Regions from separate parts of the Homo sapiens genome. Here all the other regions are linked to region 1. Evidence: promoter capture Hi-C in human tissues and cell types (Jung and others, 2019). All regions are on one chromosome and are shown on one strand. The core of a region is centred on a gene start or on the middle of the fragment in contact, and the rest is flanking DNA. Distances in the headings are between cores, read along the strand shown. Region 1 holds the start of SEC14L6 (SEC14 like lipid binding 6). Region 2 overlaps TUG1 (taurine up-regulated 1). Region 3 overlaps OSBP2 (oxysterol binding protein 2).

Evidence for each region. Contacts are between HindIII fragments. The study calls those that stand out against the background at their distance.
Region 2: a contact is called between a fragment that was not itself captured here and the fragment with the promoter of SEC14L6 in region 1, in 1 of the 25 tissues and cell types used here (spleen).
Region 3: a contact is called between a fragment that was not itself captured here and the fragment with the promoter of SEC14L6 in region 1, in 1 of the 25 tissues and cell types used here (aorta).

Annotation. Positions count from the first base shown.
Region 1 is chr22:30,545,095-30,548,718 of GRCh38, forward strand. SEC14L6 (SEC14 like lipid binding 6) reads right to left here and starts at 1,647. Exons shown (of 12, transcript NM_001193336.4): 1 at 1,535-1,647. The coding sequence starts at 1,588. The HindIII fragment of the contact is 18,463 bases long and covers 1-3,624 here.
Region 2 is chr22:30,977,343-30,980,966 of GRCh38, forward strand. TUG1 (taurine up-regulated 1) reads left to right here. Exons shown (of 3, transcript NM_001396518.1): 3 at 1-2,053. Among named protein-coding and RNA genes, the nearest start is that of TUG1, 9.9 kb to the left of the region's middle. The HindIII fragment of the contact is 3,375 bases long and covers 1-3,266 here.
Region 3 is chr22:30,898,531-30,902,154 of GRCh38, forward strand. The region is part of intron 12 of OSBP2 (oxysterol binding protein 2); the gene reads left to right. The region is part of intron 2 of LOC107985544 (a long non-coding RNA gene); the gene reads right to left. It also overlaps the pseudogene EIF4HP2. Among named protein-coding and RNA genes, the nearest start is that of MORC2-AS1, 22 kb to the right of the region's middle. The HindIII fragment of the contact is 3,788 bases long and covers 131-3,624 here.

The DNA of each region.
Region 1 (3,624 bases), core at 397-2,896:
GGAACCGTGTGAGTCTTCCTGGACCCCAAGCTTGCCGTGTGCGACCACGAAGGAAAGACCCTAAGGACCTTCAAGGGACTCCTCCCAGGCTAGAGACGAAAATGCACCCTGTTCCTGCCTCCTCCAGCTCATAGCTGAGGACGTGACCTGCCAATGCAGCCTCCCCAGCAGGCCAGCAGCCTTCACCAGCCCTGTCCAATATGGTAGCCACAAATTCTTAAAATGTGGCTAGTTTGAACTGAGGTCTGCTGTGAGTGTAAAATACACAGGATTCCAAAGACTCAGTATCCCCTCAAAACACTCATTTTTTTTTTTTTTGAAACAGGGTCTAGCTCTGTTGCCCAGGCTGGAGTGCAGTGGCACGATGTTGGCTCACCGCAGTCTCGACCTCCTAGGCTCAATCCATCCTCCCACCTCAGCCTCCCGAGTAGCTGGGACTACAGGCATGGGCCACCACACCCAGCTATTTGTTGTTGTTGTTGTTGTTTTTAGAGATGGGGTCTCCCTATGTTGCTAATTTTTTAATTTTTTGTAAAGATGTGTTCTTGCTATGTTGCCAGAACTCCTGGGCTCCAGTGATCCTCCCGCCTCAAAGTGCGGGGATTATAGGCCCGAGCTACTGCACCAGACCAGTTGTTTTTATATTGATTAGATTATATATTGAAGTTAATACATCATTAAACTTTACTTCAATTGTTTCTTTTTAGGTTTTTTTTGTTTTGTTTTGTTTTGTTTTTGTTTTTGTTTTGTTTTTGAGACATAGTCTTGCTCTGTCTCCCAGGCTGGAGTGCAGTGGCAGAATCTTGGCCCACTGCAACCTCCACCTCCTGGGTTCAAACGATTCTCCTGCCACAGGGTTTCACCCTGTTGCCCAGGCTGGTCTCAAACTCCTGACCTCAAATGATCCATCCACCTCAGCCTCCCAAAGTGTTGGGATTACAGGCATGAGCCACAGCGCCCAGCCTCTTTTTAGTTCTTTAATGGAGCTACTAGAAAATTTCAAAAAGGCCGGGCATGGTGGCTCATGCCTGTAATCCCAGCACTCTGGGAGGCCAAGGTGGGTGGATCACCTGAGATCAGGAATTCCAGACCAGCCTGACCAACGTGGTTAAAACCCCATCTCTACTAACATACAAAAATTAGCCAGGCGTGGTAGCAGGTGCCTGTAATCCCAGCTACTCCGGAGGCTAGGGCAGGAGAATTGCTTGAACCCAGAAGGCAGAAGTTGCAGTGAGCCAAGATTGTGCCGTTGTACTCCAACCTGGGCAACAAGAGCGAAACTCCGTCTCAAAAAAAAAAAAAAAAAAAAAAAGGAAGAAAGAAAATTTCAAATGACCTATGTGGCTTGCGTTTGTGGTGGCGTGGTATTTCTATTGGTTAGTGCTGGTGTAGCCTCTGGCTACCAAGCCCCTCAGGGTTGGGAAGAGACCCAGAGCTGGAGAGTTCAGAAGAAACTCAGGGACCTTGAGTCCTGCCCTTCCCCGTGGCAGAAGGAGAAACTGAGGCTGGTGTAGGAGTCTCTCCCTTCACTCACCTGGGCCAGCGACTTCTCCTGCGATGGGCTCAGGTCACCCACTTGTCCACTCATGCTGCCCATGAATGGGTCCAGGCTCCACTCTGTGGCTCCCTCCAGGTGGCCTGCCTTTTGCCAGCTGGTAGCCATGCCCACATTTATCACCACCCAGAAATCCCACTACTTCCTGTGAGCCTCAGGGCAACAGGTGGGGCTCATTCCTTACTAGGTGCCTCAGGCATGGGGCCCTGGATTCAGCCTGCCCTGGGTTCACATCCTCACTTGCAAAATTAGGACAGCGATGTTTCCTCGGAGCGTTGATGACATGTTGAAATTGACACCACCTGATTTCACACACACACGGAGGCGGCTGTTCACCCTGCCTCTCAGTCCCCTACCCTCTACTCCTGTGGTCCCATCGGATGCCTCTTTGAGCCAGGAGAAGTCATCTCTCACCCCCAACAGAGGCCCGGAAGTCACTGTCATCATGCCTTCACTCTCATCCCAGGCTTCATCTACCACCTGACATGTCCAGAGCAACTGCCCATGATTCATCCCAGATGTTAAGGCACATGGCTTCAGGGTTGAGGATGAAACTTCCCAGGCCCAGACCCAAACAGGTGGATTTGCAATCCTGAGCTGGGCCACACTTGGCCTGGGAGCCAGGATGAGAGGTGAGGAGGGACTCCTGGCTACATCTGCCCCCACCACCCACTGGACAAGCAGAAAGCCAGAGCCCAAGGTGAGGACACATGAGATCACGCGGTGTGCACGGGGCCTGGAACACAGTAGTTATTTGTAGTAGTCTGGGTTGCCCTGAAACAAGGAGTTCAGGGCAAGTTTATTAGGGAGGTGTCCTGAGAAACACAAGTAGGGAAGTGTGGAAATGAGACAGAGAACGGAAGGCAGCTGTATAGGCCTGGTTATCAAGGAAGTACAGAAGAGCTCAATCCCAGTGGGGACTTCTGGGAGACAGCAGGGAACCTGCCCATCAGCGTTTCCTTGCCTGAGTGGGGAGGGAGCTGGGGTATTTATGCAGCATCTCGGGACAGTCTTCAGTTGAGGGCTGCTCCAGGGGCTGTCAATTCTGCTGGCACTGCTGGCCTGCTGTGCACACAATTCAGAAGGCTGGAGAGCGTACTTAGGCAGAGAAACACAGGTGCTGCTGCTGGGGAGTAGTGAGGCTGAGGTGATACAGGCAGAACATCACCAGCTTTAGCTCTAATCAGAAACCGTTTGCTGGGCTCCATGTCAAGTTCTAGTCCAAAGGCTTCATGTGCTCCTTGAGCCCCAGACTGTTCTTCCCTACCTGACAGAGCCTGGAAGAGGGAAGCAGCATGCCTGGGGCCATACAGCCATGTAGTAAGTGACAATCAGGACTATCTGGACCTGGTGCTTACTCAGGACATTGTATCCCACATGCCTGGCTCCTGCCAGAGGCATGCACATAGGTGGCCTTACTAAGTCCCAGGAGAGTCCCCCTTAGCCCTGGAAGAGGGCAATGAGCAGATCTGCCTCTTCTACAGGGTGGGGCCTCCCCAGTACCCCACACACTGCAGGCTGGAGCTTGAGCCATAAGGGGTAAAATCAGGAACTCTCCCCTACTCTTGTCTCCTCCCACTGGGTCCCTGCTCCCAGCACCTCTGGCCCATCTTCTTCTTCTTCTTCCTTATTTTTATGTATTTATTTTTTGAGACAGAGTCTTCTTGCTCTGTGGCCCAGGCTGGAGGGCAGTGGCTCACTGCAACCTCCTCCTCCCAGGTTCAAGCAATTCTCCTGTCTCAGCCTCCCGAGTATCTGGGATTACAGGCGCACGCCACCACACATGGTTAATTTTTGTATTTTTAGTAGAGACAGGGTTTCACCTTGTTGGCCAGGCTGGTCTTGAACTCTCGACCTCAAGAGATCTGCCCACCTTAGCCTCCCAAAGTGCTGGGATTACAGGAGTGAGCCATCGCACCCAGCCTTGGCCCATCTTCTTCAAGCTGGCTTCTGAGTAAGTCCCTCCTCTGCTCCAAAGCCTCCCTGGGCTCCTTGTTACCCTCAGTTAAAAACTGTAGATGCCTTCGCCTAGACTCAAGGCCCTTTTGGGTCCCTCCTGAGCTAATTTC
Region 2 (3,624 bases), core at 329-2,828, 430 kb after region 1:
ATTACCAAAGAAAGTAGGGCCAACTTTGACAAATCTGGCTCTGCTGACCCTGTCACTCCCAGATGTAGCATAGACTCCTAAACAGAACCTCAAGTCTGATTGAGGATAAGGCCTTCTCCTGAGCTGAAAGTTCTTTGGCAGATGAGCAAGAAACTGAAAGCTGATGTACCTGACTGGCTCTGTAAGATCAGAAAACTGTATCCAGAATAAGCCCTATGGATTAACCCCTGAGTACCCAGAGTAAAAACTAATTTACAGAACTTCCTTATTGATCTGCTGGTTCTTCCAGATCATATTCTGGCTATTGGTATGGCTGGCCTTTCTGAAGGTACCCTGCTTGTCTATTTTCCTGACTCAGCTCTTGCCTGCCTTTTTCACATGTTGCTGCAATTAGACTCACCGTGAGGACTACAGTCAATTTCAGTCTATCTTGTGCCCAATACAACAAGGATTTTTAATAGTAACAACCCACACCTCACCCACTAGGACTCAATGTTCACAACAGGAAGGACCATTGCTGCATACTCCTTGACCAGCAACTTTTTTGAAGATATTTTTAAGTGCAGAGTAGGCCTCTATTCCTGTATGTAATTGTTCATTTTCAGCACCTGGAACCTCATCTATCGGGTCTGGAAGGAATACAGCAGTTCGAAAGCCGCGTCCATTTCTCTCCTTCAGTAGTGCAGAAATGAGTCCGATTCACCAGTACACACAGAACTGTACCAGTTCAACCTAGCAAAAGAAGAAAAGTTTCCACTGTACTTAAAATTTACAGCTGACTCAAATTGCCTCACAGAATTATTTGATGTAGAAGGCTAGTTGTCTTACTTCAGATCAGCAGGACAGTTGGGCTCTCAGACTCATGACCACTGAGTTTGCTTGTGTTGAAACTGTGGTTTCATCCAACATATGCTATTGGACATGATTATTATTCCATTCAAATGGATTACAGACTTCTTGAGGACAGGACAAACTTATCTCTCATGGTGTTTTTTTAGAATACTTTTATAACCAAGGAAGAAACCATGCCAGCTGTTACCATTCAACTTCTTAAGCAGAGATTAAGCTTTTTCATATCTGTTCTTATCCTGGACATCAGTAGTTTTTAATTGCCCAGCATCCGTTCCATCTTGTAACAACTCCCTGATGTTTCTTAAAACCACCTCTTCCTATTTTCAGTCTGTGGTTTGGACAGTCTGACCCAACCTTGAGCTTTGTGGGTGAACATGTAATTCAGACCTCATCAATCAGCAAATCCATCTGAACTGTGGAGGAGAAGCTCTCTTTACTGAGGGTGCTTTAGCTTTGTAGGATGAAAACCTCAAACTAACAGGGCCTACCATGTAGAGAATGAAGCCAGTGCAGGGGAAAGCAGAGCCAAAATATGGAGAGACTTGAATCCTGATGACAGCGTTTGTGCCCCTGGATCCAACCGTGCCTGAAGCTAGAATATCCCCTGGACTTTTCAGTTATGTGAACCAATAAATACCCTTTTTTGCTTAAGTTACTTTGAGTTGGGTTTCTGTTACTTGAAATTGAATCCACACTAATATATCTACCAACATTGAGACTTGACAGATCCAAGTATTTATTAAGCTAGAGGTCATGGTCACTGAAATTACTTTCCAAAGTGGAAGACAAAATGAAACAGGAACTGAGGGAATATTTAAGATCCCACAGAAGCGTAAAAATGACATGGTAGAAAGTAATAGAAAACCTAAATGTCTGTCATTAAAGGATAGGTTAAGGTGTGGTTCAGCCATATAGGAATATCTCGTATCTGTTAAAATGAATAAAGTACATTCATTGTGTATGGAAAAATGGCCATGATACATTAGGTGAAACAAGTTATTAATAGAAAAGTGTACAGTGTGAACTCATTTTAAAATGTGTGTGCTTATGTTTATAAATGCATAGAAAGGTCTATTCACAGCTTTCTTTGAACAGTGTAGATCACATGAAACTTTCAACTTTATACATTTCTGTATTAATATTTTACACTACCCACATTATTTTTAAACTTTATTTTAAATAAAGAATTTTTAAAATTAAATTTAGTGCTTACTGTTTGACCTTGGCAAGTTATTCAACACTGAGCCTGTTTTATCAAATGATTTAAAATGCCTACTTTTATGTTAGTAAATATTAAATATAAATCATTCATTACTCAAGTTGACAGATTGCTATACCATTGCTTGTTTGAGAAACTCAGAGCTTAGTAATTGTTCCTTAGTTTTTTAAGCATGTCTCCTTCAAGTGAGTTTATTTGGATTATCAGAATTTTGTGGTTTTAAGGTTTATCAAAGATTATTCTAGTTCTTGACTGATGTTGATCTGCTAAGACTATTGCAGTATCCACATTAGGCAGAAAGCAGGGGGAAAGTCACTTTTTTTAAAAAATCCTTGAAATATTCTGATGTCACTGCAATTAAGGTCAATAGTGACCTTTTCATTGCTAAATCCGTTACACCTGCATCTAATATGAACTTTCAGCAGCACAGGTAACTCCCACCAGCTTCTTGAAACACTTCCCTTAAGTGCTATAATACTTTTAATTTTCTTTTCAACTTGCAGACTACTCCTTTATTGTAGGTTCTTCTCCCCATCATGTAAATATAGGTATAGTGGACATCCATTGCTTTGGCTTGCCAAAAATCACTTCCCCTTTACTTTAATCATACATCCCCACTTATCCTTTAGAAAGCTGCTCCTTCCCATTCTGTGTGGTGGTAGTGGAAATGTAGATGACAGTACTCCGGCCTCATGCCCCCTGGCTGAGGTTTGAGCAATGCAAGCTCGTTCTGTCCCACAAGGACTTTGATTCTTAAGAAAGGTGACCACAAAGTGATCAGAGTTGAGTCATTCTGATCGTAGTGTTCTAAAGAAACCATTTAAAAGTTTATGAAAGGAGATCTCCAAAGTATGCTGGCTCCTATTCTCCAAGCCTGGTTGTCCAAGTTTTCCTTTGATTGTATAAACTACCACATAGCCTCCTTAAAATAAGTTTCCTTTTTGTCAGCCAAAATGGGTTTCTATTGCTGGTGACCAAATGACTGACTAATTACAGAAATGGAGGCCGGAGAGTTAAATGGTAGGCCTTTAACCCACAGGAACATATGGAGGATCTGGAATTGATTATTGTACTGAGACAGATAATGGCACCAGCTCTTGTTCTGTGTCCCTGGGAGGATAAATCTACGAGTTAAGGGTGACAAAACAGTAATGATATCATTTCTTGTCATTTGGAATCGTGCCTGTTGAGAGTAGAATTTGGAGGGCCAGGTAATTGTTGACAATAGGACAATTTAAAGTGGATAGACTGGGCACAGTGGCTCACACCTGTAATCCCAGCACTTTGGGAGACCAAGGTGGGTGGAGCACCTTAGGTCAAGGAATTCAAGACCAGCCTGGCCACATGATGAAACCCCGTCTCTACAAAAATACAAAAATTAGCCAGGCATGATGGTTAATCATGTAATCCCAGCTACTCGGGAGGCTGAGGCTGGAGAATGACTTGAACCCAGGAGGCAGAGGTTGTGGTGAGCCAAGATCGCACTGTTGCACTCTAGCCTGGGCAACAGAGCAAGACTCCATCTCAAAAAAAAAGAAAGAAAAAATTAGCTG
Region 3 (3,624 bases), core at 775-3,274, 350 kb after region 1:
GCGTAAGGTGAAGGAGAAGCAAGTACCTTCTTCACAAGGCAGCAGGAAAAGAGCAGAGAGTAGGGGAAACAGCTGCTTACAAAACCATCAGATCTAGTGAGAACTCACTCACTATCACAAGAATAGCATGGGGGAAACCACCCCCATGGTCCAATCACCTCCCACCCGGTCCCTCCCCTGACATGTGGGGATTACAATTTGAGATGAGATTTGGGTAGGGACACAGCCAAACCCTATTATCCCAGCACTTTGGAAGGCTGAGGCGGGAGGATTGCTTGAGTTGAAGAATTTGAGACCAGCCTGGGCAATATGGCAAGATATCATCTTTATATTAATAATAATAATAATAATAATAATAAAAGCAGAAATCAATTAAAAAAACAAAGCCAAAAGTTGATTCTTTGAGGCATAAAAAAACTGTCAAAATAGAAAACTACTGACAAGACTGATCAAGATAGAAATAAATATTAATGAAAAAGGTTTAATGTGACATATAAAGTATAAAGACATAATTAAAACTTAGATTGGAGGGACAAATTCTTAGAAAAATATAACAAGAACTAACTCTAGCTGGGCACAGTGGCTCATGCTTATAATCCCAGCACTTTGGAAAGCCAAGGCAGTTGGATTGCTTAAGCCCATGAGTTCAAGACCAACCTGGGCAACAGCAAGACCCTGTCTCTACAAAAAAAAAATTTTTTTAATTAGCCATGTGTAGTCCCACCTGTAGTACACATGTGTAGTACACACCTGTAGTCCCAGCTACTCAGGAGGCTGAGGCAGGAAGGTTACTTGAGCCCAGGAAGTCGAGGCTGCAGTGAGCCATGACTACTACTGCATACCAGCCTGGGTGACAAAGCAGACCCTATCTCAAAAAAAAAAAAAAAAGAAAAAGAACTGACTCTAGAAGAAATTGAAAACATGAATAGTCCTATAATAAAGTAACTGAAGCAATAGTTTAAAAATTACTGTAAGGAAAACACGAGGCCCAGATAATTTTACAGATGAATTCTCCCTATTTTTTCAGAAACATATTATTCCAATTTCATATAAAGTGTTCCAGATCATAGAAAAAGGAAATATTCACCTCTCCTAAACTGTGAGGCCAGGATAACCCTCATACCAAATTAGGCTAAACTAGCAGTAGGAAAATAAAAGTTCTACCCTATTTCACTTATATTAATAAATATATAAGCAAAAATCTAAAACGATATCAGAAAATCCAATCCAACAGTGTATAAAAAAGATAGCATCCTATAATCAGGTTGAATTTATCCTGGGTATATAGAATGATTTTATATTAGAAAATCCATAGAGTAATCATATTAACAGATTTCAATAGATTCAGAAAAATCATTTTAGGTGCCTAGATACAAGATTAATATACGAAAGCCAGTTGCATTTCAGCAAACAACTAGAAAAATGCAATTTAAGATAAGACACCAAGACTGGGCGCAGTGGCTCATGCCTGTAATCCCAGCACTTTGGGAAGCCAAGGCAGGCAGATCACCTGAGGTCGGGAGTTTGAGACCAGCCTGACCAACATGGAGAAACCCCATCTCTACTAAAAATACGACATTAGGCGTGGCGGCGCATGCCTGTAATCCCAGCTACTTTGGAGGCTGAGGCAGGAGAATCACTTGAACCCAGGAGGCAAAGGTTGTGGTGAGCCAAGATCATGCCATTGCACTCCAGCCTGGGCAACAAGAGCGAAACTCCATCTCAAAAAAAAAAAAAAAATTAACAGCATATAACATCAAGGACCTTGTAATAAATCTAATATAATCCAGACCTCTATAGAGAACATTATACAGCTTTAATAAGAGATACCAAAGAAGAGCTAAATAAATGGAGAAAGATATAATGTTCACGGATAGAAAGTATTGTAAAGATGTCATGATTTAAAAAGTCAGTAAATCAAACAAAACCCCAATAGGGACCTTCATGGAACTTGATATTAGAATTTTTAAATTTATATTGAGGAATAAAGGGCCAAGACATTTCTGAAGAAGACCAGAGAGGACTTACCCTACTAGATACCAGGATTTTTATTTTGAAACTCTAATGGAACAGATTAGTGAGCCCAGAAACAGACCCATGGATATATGTACCTCTGATATATGACAAAGGTGGCATATCAGATCTTGTGGGAAGATGGAATGGCTCACCAAATGAATCCCTATGGAAAAAGATGCACTTAATCCCTCCCTCACGTTATAAAGAAAATCAAATAATGGCCTTACAGTAATATTGTTTGACTTATTGTAAACAATGACTTAATAAGTTGAAAAGGATAAATATCTTTTAGACCCTAAGGAAATATTAAGACACAAGCATTCATATATTTGACCATATTAAAATACTTTTGTTCATTGAGAACTTTTACTCACTAAAAGGCAATTTAAAGAAAGTGAAAAGACGATGCATAAACAAACTTGGAGAAGGTAATCATAATATCTACCTACACTTGACAGAGGATTATTATCAAGAATACAGAGTATTTTATCATAGTTAAAAATAAAAATTTTTAAAAGATCACATAAAGAACTTTTTTTTGAGATGGAGTCTCACTCTGTCGCCCAGCCTGGAGTACAGTGATGTGATCTCGACTCATTGCAACCTCCGCCTCCCGGGTTCAAGCGATTCTCCTGCCTCAGCCTCCTGAGGAGCTGGGATTACAGGTGTGCGCCACCACGCCCGACTAATTTTTGTATTTTTAGTAGAGATGGAGTTTTGCCATGTTGGCCAGGCTGGTCTCAAATTCCTGACCTCAGGTGATCTGCCTGCCTCTGCCTCCCAAAGTGCTGGGATTACAGGCAAAAGCCACCATGCCCAGCCCACATAAAGAACTTCTAATCAACAATTAATGTAAAAATAATGGGAAAATGTGCAAGAGTCATGAACAAGAATTTTGCAGAAAAAACATATATGGCCAGTCATCACATAAAAAACATGTATGTTGAAGAAGCTGTAGAGCTACAATATCTCTGATACATTGCTGCTGGCAAAAGTTGTAAATTGGTACAACACTCGGGAAAACAGTTTGGCTTTCCACCAGGCGTGGTGGCTCACGCCTGTAATCCCAGCACTTTGGGAGGCCAAGGCCGGTGGAACACCTGAGGTCAGGAGTTCGAGACCAGCCTGGCCAACCTGGTGAAACCCTGTCTCTACTAAAAATATAAAAATTAGCCAGGCGTGGTGGCACACACCTGTAATCCCAGCTACTCGGAAAGCTGAGGCAGGAAAAGTGCTTGAACCTGGGAAGTGGAGGTTGCAGTGTCCGAGATGGTGCCACTGCACTCCAGCCTGGACGACGAGTGAAATTCTGTCCCCCCACAAAAAAAGATGAACAATCACATAGTCATAACCCAGTAATTCTACTTGTAAAAATATACTCGAGAAATTCTTGCAAATGTACAACAGGACTTATGCATGAGACTATTCCAATAACAAAAACTTGGAAACAACACAAATTTATTGAATGAATAACTGTGGTACATTCGCATGAAGGAATATATACAGTAGCTAAAACTAAACCCCAGTAACATGAAGCAACGTAGGTAAATCTTAGCAATATAAGAAAAAAAAAAAAAACGAAAAAAAAAAAACCAAAAAAAAAAAACA